2 separate regions of the Homo sapiens genome follow, and region 1 is linked to region 2. Evidence: promoter capture Hi-C in 16 types of primary human blood cells and fetal thymus (Javierre and others, 2016). All regions are on one chromosome and are shown on one strand. The core of a region is centred on a gene start or on the middle of the fragment in contact, and the rest is flanking DNA. Distances in the headings are between cores, read along the strand shown.

Region 1 (3,727 bases), core at 1,088-3,587, 1.5 Mb after region 2:
GCCCGGACAGGGCCAGCAGAAGGGCTCCTTGGTCTAGCGGTGACGCCAGCGTCTGGGAAGACGCCCGTTGCCCGAGCGGACAGTGGTCTAGCGGTAGCGAAAAGTGTCAAGGAACAACACCCACTACTTAGCAGACCGGGAAAGGGAGGCTCCTTTTCCCTGGGGGAGTTTGGAGAAGACTCTGCTCCTCCACCTCTTGTGGAGGGCCTGACATCAGTCAGGCTCGCCCGCGGTTATCTGGCAGCCTAACCGTCTCCCTGTGATGCTGTGCTTCAGTGGTCACGCTCCTAGTCCGCCTTCATGTTCCATCCTGTACACCTGGCTCTGCCTTCTAGATAGCAGTAGTCATTTAGTGAAAGTACTAAAAGTCTCTGATATGCAGAAATAATGGCATAAGCTGTCTTTCTGTCTGTCCCCTCTCTCTCTCTCTGCCTCGGCTGCCAGGCAGGGAAGGGCCCCCTGTCCAGTGGACACGTGACCCACGTGACCTTACCTATCATTGGAGATGACTCACACTCTTTACCCTGCCCCTTTTGCTTTGTATCCAATAAATAACAGCACAGCCAGACATTCGGGGCCACTACCAGTCTCCGCGCATTGCTGGTAGTGGTCCCCCGGGCCCAGCTGTCTTTTCTTTTATCTCTTCGTCTTGTGTCTTTATTTCTACACTCTCTCGTCGCCGCACACAGGGAGAGACCCACTGACCCTGTGGGGCTGGTCCCTACAGTAATTTTAAAGGGAAGAGCAACAAACTTTCGGTTTGCAGGGCTGGGACTGTTTACAGCTGCAAAATTTAGAGAGGACATCAATCTATTATTATCCACATTTTACAGCTGGGGAAATCAATGCTAAGAGAGGAAATTCATTTGCCCAGAGGTGCACCACCCTGGCCTCCAATGTGCAATTCATGCAATTGTGATTTCCGACCTGGTCCCAAACTAACCCTAAAGTTAGCAGGCCAGAACAGTGCTGCTCAAATAAGTCAGCTTAGTCAAATAAGTCAGGCAAAGGTCGTGTCTTTGCACCTGGAGTCCTGGCCAGGCTGGTAGGTCCCTCCTCCTGGGACAAGTTCACCCTCAGAATTTTCAGCAAGATCATCTCCCACAGCTTGTTAATTGGTTCTTGGTTCTAAGTGATTTTTTTGTTTATTGGTTTAAGAGATGGGATCCCACTCTATCACCCAGGCTTGAGTGCCGTGGCACAATCATAGCTCGCTGCAGCCTCAAACTCCTGGGCTCGAGTGATCCTCCTGCCTCAGCCTCCCAGCCTCAGCCTGGGACCACAGGCATGTACCACCATGCCTGGCTCTAAGTGGCTTTAATGGGGTCCTTCTGAGGGATGTTGGAGTCAGGGCCTGGGGGGAGTTCCCCAGGCCTTCTGGGAGGCCTGGGCTCTGGACTTGACCTCGCCTACTGTCTGGCCCTGCTGAAAAGAAAAAAAAACATGGAAATGGCAGACCTAACAGAATCTGGGCTGTGGTCAGGATGTGGCTGAAGAAGCCACAAGAAAAACATGCAGTCCCCTTTCAGCGGTCATGCCCAGCAGTTGGGTGCCGATAATGGGCCTGATTTCCTGTAGGAAGCCCTGGCTCTCTTGGCCACATGGACAGTGTCTGAGGCTGGCCCTGTTATTCCCCTTTGCAGATGAAGAAACAGGCTCAGAGAGTTTACCTGGTATCCTGGAGTCCCAGGAGCACTTTTTCTGGAAGTAGGAGCTTGTTTCCTGCAGGTGCCAAGACAGAGACCGACATTGTTTGTTGGCTGGGTCGGTCTCCCAGTTTTCAGCTGGCTCCAGTCTCACCTGTTGCTCACACACCCTCCATGTCTCCCATAGTCCCCTCGGTGGGGACAGAGGCACTGGATGAAGCCCTGCTCGTCACCACAGAGACACCTGAACACAAAAACCAGTCCCTGGGGTCAGACCCAGGCCCCGCCCCCAGACCCAGGCCCTGCCCTCACTCCACCACGCAACTGTGCAACCTCAGTTTCCCCAGGTGGAGACCGGACCAACAGTGATGGCCTCTGCCTCTTCAGGTCATAGTACAGATGAATACAGGCTGGCACGGCCTAGGCACTCAGTAACACACAGCAGAGGCACAGGGACTTAAGATGGAGTGTCCCAGGCAGCCACAGTTGGCTGGCACCCAGCTGGGAAGGGCCCAAGGGCTTTTAAAGCAGGGTGAAAAAAAAGCCCACCTCCTTTCTGGGAAACTGAAACTGAAAACCTAATTAATCCTCTGCCTGTAGGTGCCTCATGCAAGAGCTGCTGGTCAGAGCACTTCCTGGAACTTGCTATTGGTCAGGACGTTTCCTATGCTAATAAAGGGGTGGCCCGTAGAAGATTCCAGCACCCTCCCCTAACTCCAGGCCAGACTCTAAAGGGGAGATCTGGATGGCATCTACTTCGTATGACTATTGCAGAGTGCCCATGGAAGACGGGGATAAGCGCTGTAAGCTTCTGCTGGGGATAGGAATTCTGGTGCTCCTGATCATCGTGATTCTGGGGGTGCCCTTGATTATCTTCACCATCAAGGCCAACAGCGAGGCCTGCCGGGACGGCCTTCGGGCAGTGATGGAGTGTCGCAATGTCACCCATCTCCTGCAACAAGAGCTGACCGAGGCCCAGAAGGGCTTTCAGGATGTGGAGGCCCAGGCCGCCACCTGCAACCACACTGTGGTAAGCTCCTCAACTCCTTTGGATGGCCTAGTACTAGGCGGTGGGAGGGACAAGAATCTCTCCCCAGAAATCTGACCCAGGGTGGGTCTCCAGGGAGATGCAGGGGAGGTCCTGAAACTGCTCCTGGGCCCCCACATCAAGGGACCTAGGTTCCCCTACCAGGGTTTGTGGGCCCCTAACCCAGTCCAGGGCACTGGTGTAGGGGCAGGGTGTTAAAACTCTCCAGATCCCCCAAATCGGGGACCTCAGTATCCCCCTGGGACTTAGGTGAATTTATAAATTCTTTCCAGGGCACTGGTGTCGGGGGCCTTGAAACTCCTCGTGGGCACCAGTCCTGGGGGAGTAGAAATCCCTATTCAGGGTTGAAGGGGGACCTCACCAGACCCTGAAAAAGGGGGCTTTTGAAATTTTCACTTCATCCCTAAGAAACTGAAATATTCACCTGGGTCCTGATATGGGGGATCTTGAAACTCTCGCTGGGCATGTCACTTGGGCGGGGAAATCCCACTGCATTCTGGATTTGGTAGGGCCCTCTAACTTTTCTTGGGCCATTGCTCAGGCAATCTGGAAATGTCCACTAAACTTTGGTTATCGATAGCCTCCAAGTTTCCACGTGGGGTGGCCTCAAAACTCCCATTTTGAGGACCCACATGCTTATGGGTGGCCCTGGGAGAGTGTGTGGTTGTGGCTGTTCTTTAAGGTTGGAGACCATGGTGCAGAGAGGGTTGGAAGAAAACCTGAAAGGGGTTTGCATTTAAGCCCCTCTGTCCCCAGGACCTAGGGAGGAGGCCCAGGTCCCAGGGGCAGCAGCCAAACTCCCCAGGCCAAAACCCCAGATTCTAACTCTTCTTAGATGGCCCTAATGGCTTCCCTGGATGCAGAGAAGGCCCAAGGACAAAAGAAAGTGGAGGAGCTTGAGGGTGAGAAAGGGAGAAGGGAGAGGGCCGGGGAGGGGTGAGTCAGGTATGGAAGAGGGGGTGGGGGCAGGGAGACCAGGGCTGGAGGTTGGGGTAAGGGGGAGGTTCTGTCCCAGAGTGGAGCAGGGCCCCAG
Region 2 (3,546 bases), core at 492-2,991:
CTCTTGTTGCCCAGGCTGGAGTGCAATGGCACGATCTTGGCTCACCGCAACCTCCGCCTCCTGGGTTCAAGCGATTCTCCTGCCTCGGCCTCCCGAGTAGCTGGGATTACGGCATGCGCTACCATGCCCAGCTAATTTTTTGTATTTTTAGTAGAGACGGGGTTTCTCCATGTTGGTCAGGCTGGTCTCAAACTCCTGGCCTCAAGTGATCCGCTCACCTGGAGCTCCCAAAGTGCTGGGATTACAGGTGTGAGCCACTGCACCGGGGCCATCTTGTTTAATTCTGCAGGACCCCTAAGAAGCGGGTAGCAAGATTTTCATGCTCATCTCACACGTGGGAAAAGGGCGCTCAGAGAGGGAAAGGTGCTTGCCCAAGAGAGCACAGCTGGTTAACCCATACCCAGGAGGCCTGCTGGGGGCTTACCTGGTGGGTGTCAGGACGAGGCAGAAGATGCCATAGGGATCCTCAGACAGCTTCTGCAAGATGGGAAGGACAAACGCTGCTGTCTTCCCACTGCCTGTCTTAGCACAGCCCAAGCAGTCTCGACCTGGGTTGGGGACAAAGCAGCATCAACACCCTCCATGTGTGGACAGCTGGGTTTCAGAGACCTTGCCCAGGACACACTGCCAGTGAGTGGCAGGCTGGACTGGAACCCATATCCATTTGACCCGAGATGCCCACAGCTTCCTACCACCTCGTTCTAACTCCGTCCAGGAGCACGTGAATTTGGGGAATCCAGAATTCCCTTCCCTCATATGCATCTTGTGCTCCCTGTTGACCCCTTCATTTGTTTATTTAATCCCTGACTTATCACATCTTAGGCTTCCTGTGGGCCTCTCTTTAATGGCGAAACTGGGTTGGGCTAGAGGAGCAGAGAGAAGACCTTCTCCTAGAGGAGCAATCACAGGACCAAGGAGTCCTGGATCTACCAGCAATTTTGACAGCCTCAACTTCTATTTGTAAAATAAAGATAGCAGTACCAGGTCTGCAGGATTTTGCGATACTATCGGACTAGTCATCCATCAAACCCTCCCTGTGCTGAGACTATGAAAATTTCAGAGATTACATCACTTGCGTACGAACACAAAGCGAGTCAGTCATGCAACCTAAATGCCAACACTGTCCAGTCGTCCTCCGGAACCCCGGATCTCCTGTAACGCCCGAGGTTGCCCCTCGCCTCGTGGGACCGGAATAAGCAAAGGTTGCGAGAAGGGAAAGGAGTCGAGAGGAGCGGAGAGGCCTCTTGGGGAAGGCCCTGGGCCATACTCACCCTCCAGGATGGCGGGGATGCAGCCGAGCTGCACGGGCGTGGGCTGCTTCAAACCCAGCTGCCGACATTGTTCCACGAGCCACGATGACAGCCCGAGCTCCGCGAAGCCTGCCATCCTTGTGGCCGCTTGTAGGGGCCCCTTGTAGGGGCCCGTGTGATCCGCGCTTCCGGCGCGCGCCGACGACGTCACGAGAAAAATCTTCCTGTTTATTGGATCTGCCTCCTGCGTGGTCCCACCCTCTCCAGCTCCCTCAGCCTATTCCCAGCCTCGACCGCATCCTTATCATGTTTCCCCGGATCCCATTGGCTTGCAGAAACACACTACAATTCCCGAGATGCTCTCCGTGACGCACTTACGCCTTCCGCCCCCTTGCATATTATTGTGGAGCTTCCCATTGGCTTACTTCGCCGCCGCTCGGAAAAAGTAAACTACATTTCCTAGCGTGCCCGTGTCTTGCTTCCGGCTGACGTGTCTTTCAGGAAGAGGAGCTGGTGAGAAGACAGCGAAATGGCGCCTCCGGCCCCCGGCCCGGCCTCCGGCGGCTCCGGGGAGGTAGACGAGCTGTTCGACGTAAAGAACGCCTTCTACATCGGCAGCTACCAGCAGTGCATAAACGAGGCGCAGCGGGTGAAGGTGCGGCCGCGCAGGGGCGCGGGGACGCTGGGGGCGGAGGCGGAGGACGCTTTCTGGTGGCCGCGAGCCGCGTTCTGCGTCTAAAAACTTTCTCTTTTCTTCTCGCGTTTTTTGGGCCACCTCTTCCACAGTTCAGTGAGGAGTAGTCACTGTCCCGTGACAGAACCCAGAGCAGTAACAGTTTACGGTACTGCTCACTCGTACAGCGTTCTCTCTGCGCCCTTGAAAGTGTTTTGAGTAAGGGAGGTGTTTATGCCACTGTAGTGACAATAAGCCTATTTTGTTCAGCCATACCTTCAGTTCCCGTGAGATGGAGACTGTTGCTTATCCTCATTTTACGGATGAGAACCCTAAAGTTCAGAGAAGGACGTTTCCCTGCCCAACCAGCCTGGTTATTTCTCCCAGAGCTTACCCATTCATTCATTCATTCTTCATTGAGCACTTTTTTGGACGGGCACTGTATTCCGCTGGACTCAGAATGATAAACACAGTTTCCCAGCGCAGTGGCTCAAACGCCTGTAATTCTGGCGCTTTGGGAGGCCGAGGCGGGCAGATCGCATGCGCCCAGGAGTTCGAGACCAGCTTGGGCAACGTGGAGAAACCATGAGTCTACCAAAAATTAGCCGGGCGTGGTGGCGGGCACTTGTAATCTCAGCTACCGGGAGGCTGAGACAGGAGAATCGCTTCAACCCGGAGGCCGAGGTTGCAGTGAACCGAGATCGCGCCACTGCACTCCAGCCTGGGTGACAAAGTTGTAAGAATTAAAGAGGAAAGAAACACGAAAGGTGGCTTGCCAGTCAAGACAGGTTTATTTTAGAGAAAACAAACCTGAGAGGCGCCTTCTGGCGGAGTTGGGTCAGAGTAACACTCTTTTACAGACTAAGAGTTTTTAAGGATTCAGGGTCGGAGAGTTTATCAGAGGCTTGAACTGCTTCTGTGTCTCTTCGTTGTGCTTATCTGGGAGGGAGAGTTGTGTGTCTGTTCCCATACATCTTTCTTTTTTCTTTTCTTTTCTTTTCTTTTTTTTTTTTTTTTGAGATGGAGACTCGCGCTGTTGCCAGGCTGGAGTGCAGTGGCGTGATCTCGGCTCACTGCAACCTCCGCCCCCAGGTTCAAGCAATTCTCCTTTCTCAGCCTCTCGAGTAGCTGGGATTACAGGCGCGCGCCACCATGGCCCGGCTAATTTTTGTATTTTTAGTAGAGACGGGGTTTCACCATGTTGGCCAGGATGGTCTCCATCTCTTGACCTTGTGATCTGCCCGCCTTGGCCTACCAAAGTGTTGGGATTACAGGTGTGAGCCACCGTGCCCAGCCTCCCATACATCTTTCTGCAGCTGCAGGCATACCCCCCTACTCTGCTTTTAGCTTGCCTATTTTAGTGCACCTGAAGGGAAAGGAATGTGCTTATTAAGGCCCACTGTTTTACTGGGGCCCGTTGTATGAAGGTGAAGTTTGGCAGTTACCCAAGAAATTTTCTTCCCACTCTCTCTCTGTCCGAGCTGTCTTTCTGTGTTTTACTGTCTCCTCTTTCTGGCTGCTTGTAGTTAGAAGTGATTTCCTGGCCGGGCGCGGTGGTTCACACCTGTAATTCCAGCACTTTGGGAGGCGGGCGGATCACCTGAGGTCAGGAGTTCGAGACCA

What was found. The method cuts DNA at HindIII sites, captures the fragments that hold promoters and counts their contacts. A CHiCAGO score of 5 or more calls a contact.
Region 1: a contact is called between the fragment with the promoter of BST2 here and the fragment with the promoter of COPE in region 2, in 1 of 17 cell types (total CD4 T cells). The highest score is 5.1, in total CD4 T cells.

The regions. Positions count from the first base shown.
Region 1 is chr19:17,404,240-17,407,966 of GRCh38, reverse strand. BST2 (bone marrow stromal cell antigen 2) reads left to right here and starts at 2,337. Exons shown (of 5, transcript NM_004335.4): 1 at 2,337-2,676; 2 at 3,530-3,596. The coding sequence starts at 2,392. BISPR (BST2 interferon stimulated positive regulator) reads right to left here and starts at 2,281. Exons shown (of 4, transcript NR_130766.1): 1 at 2,196-2,281; 2 at 1,671-1,890. It also overlaps a transcript of MVB12A not described here. RefSeq lists enhancers at 1,326-1,375, 1,576-1,625, 1,676-1,735, 1,926-2,305, 2,376-2,435 and 2 more. The HindIII fragment of the contact is 7,369 bases long and covers 1-2,456 here.
Region 2 is chr19:18,917,582-18,921,127 of GRCh38, reverse strand. It overlaps COPE (coat protein complex I subunit epsilon), which reads left to right and starts at 1,741. Exons shown (of 10, transcript NM_007263.4): 1 at 1,741-1,905. The coding sequence starts at 1,780. DDX49 (DEAD-box helicase 49) reads right to left here and starts at 1,413. Exons shown (of 13, transcript NM_019070.5): 1 at 1,272-1,413; 2 at 425-548. The coding sequence starts at 1,386. RefSeq lists enhancers at 1,139-1,738, 2,641-3,531 and a silencer at 1,819-2,008. The HindIII fragment of the contact is 20,861 bases long and covers 1-3,546 here.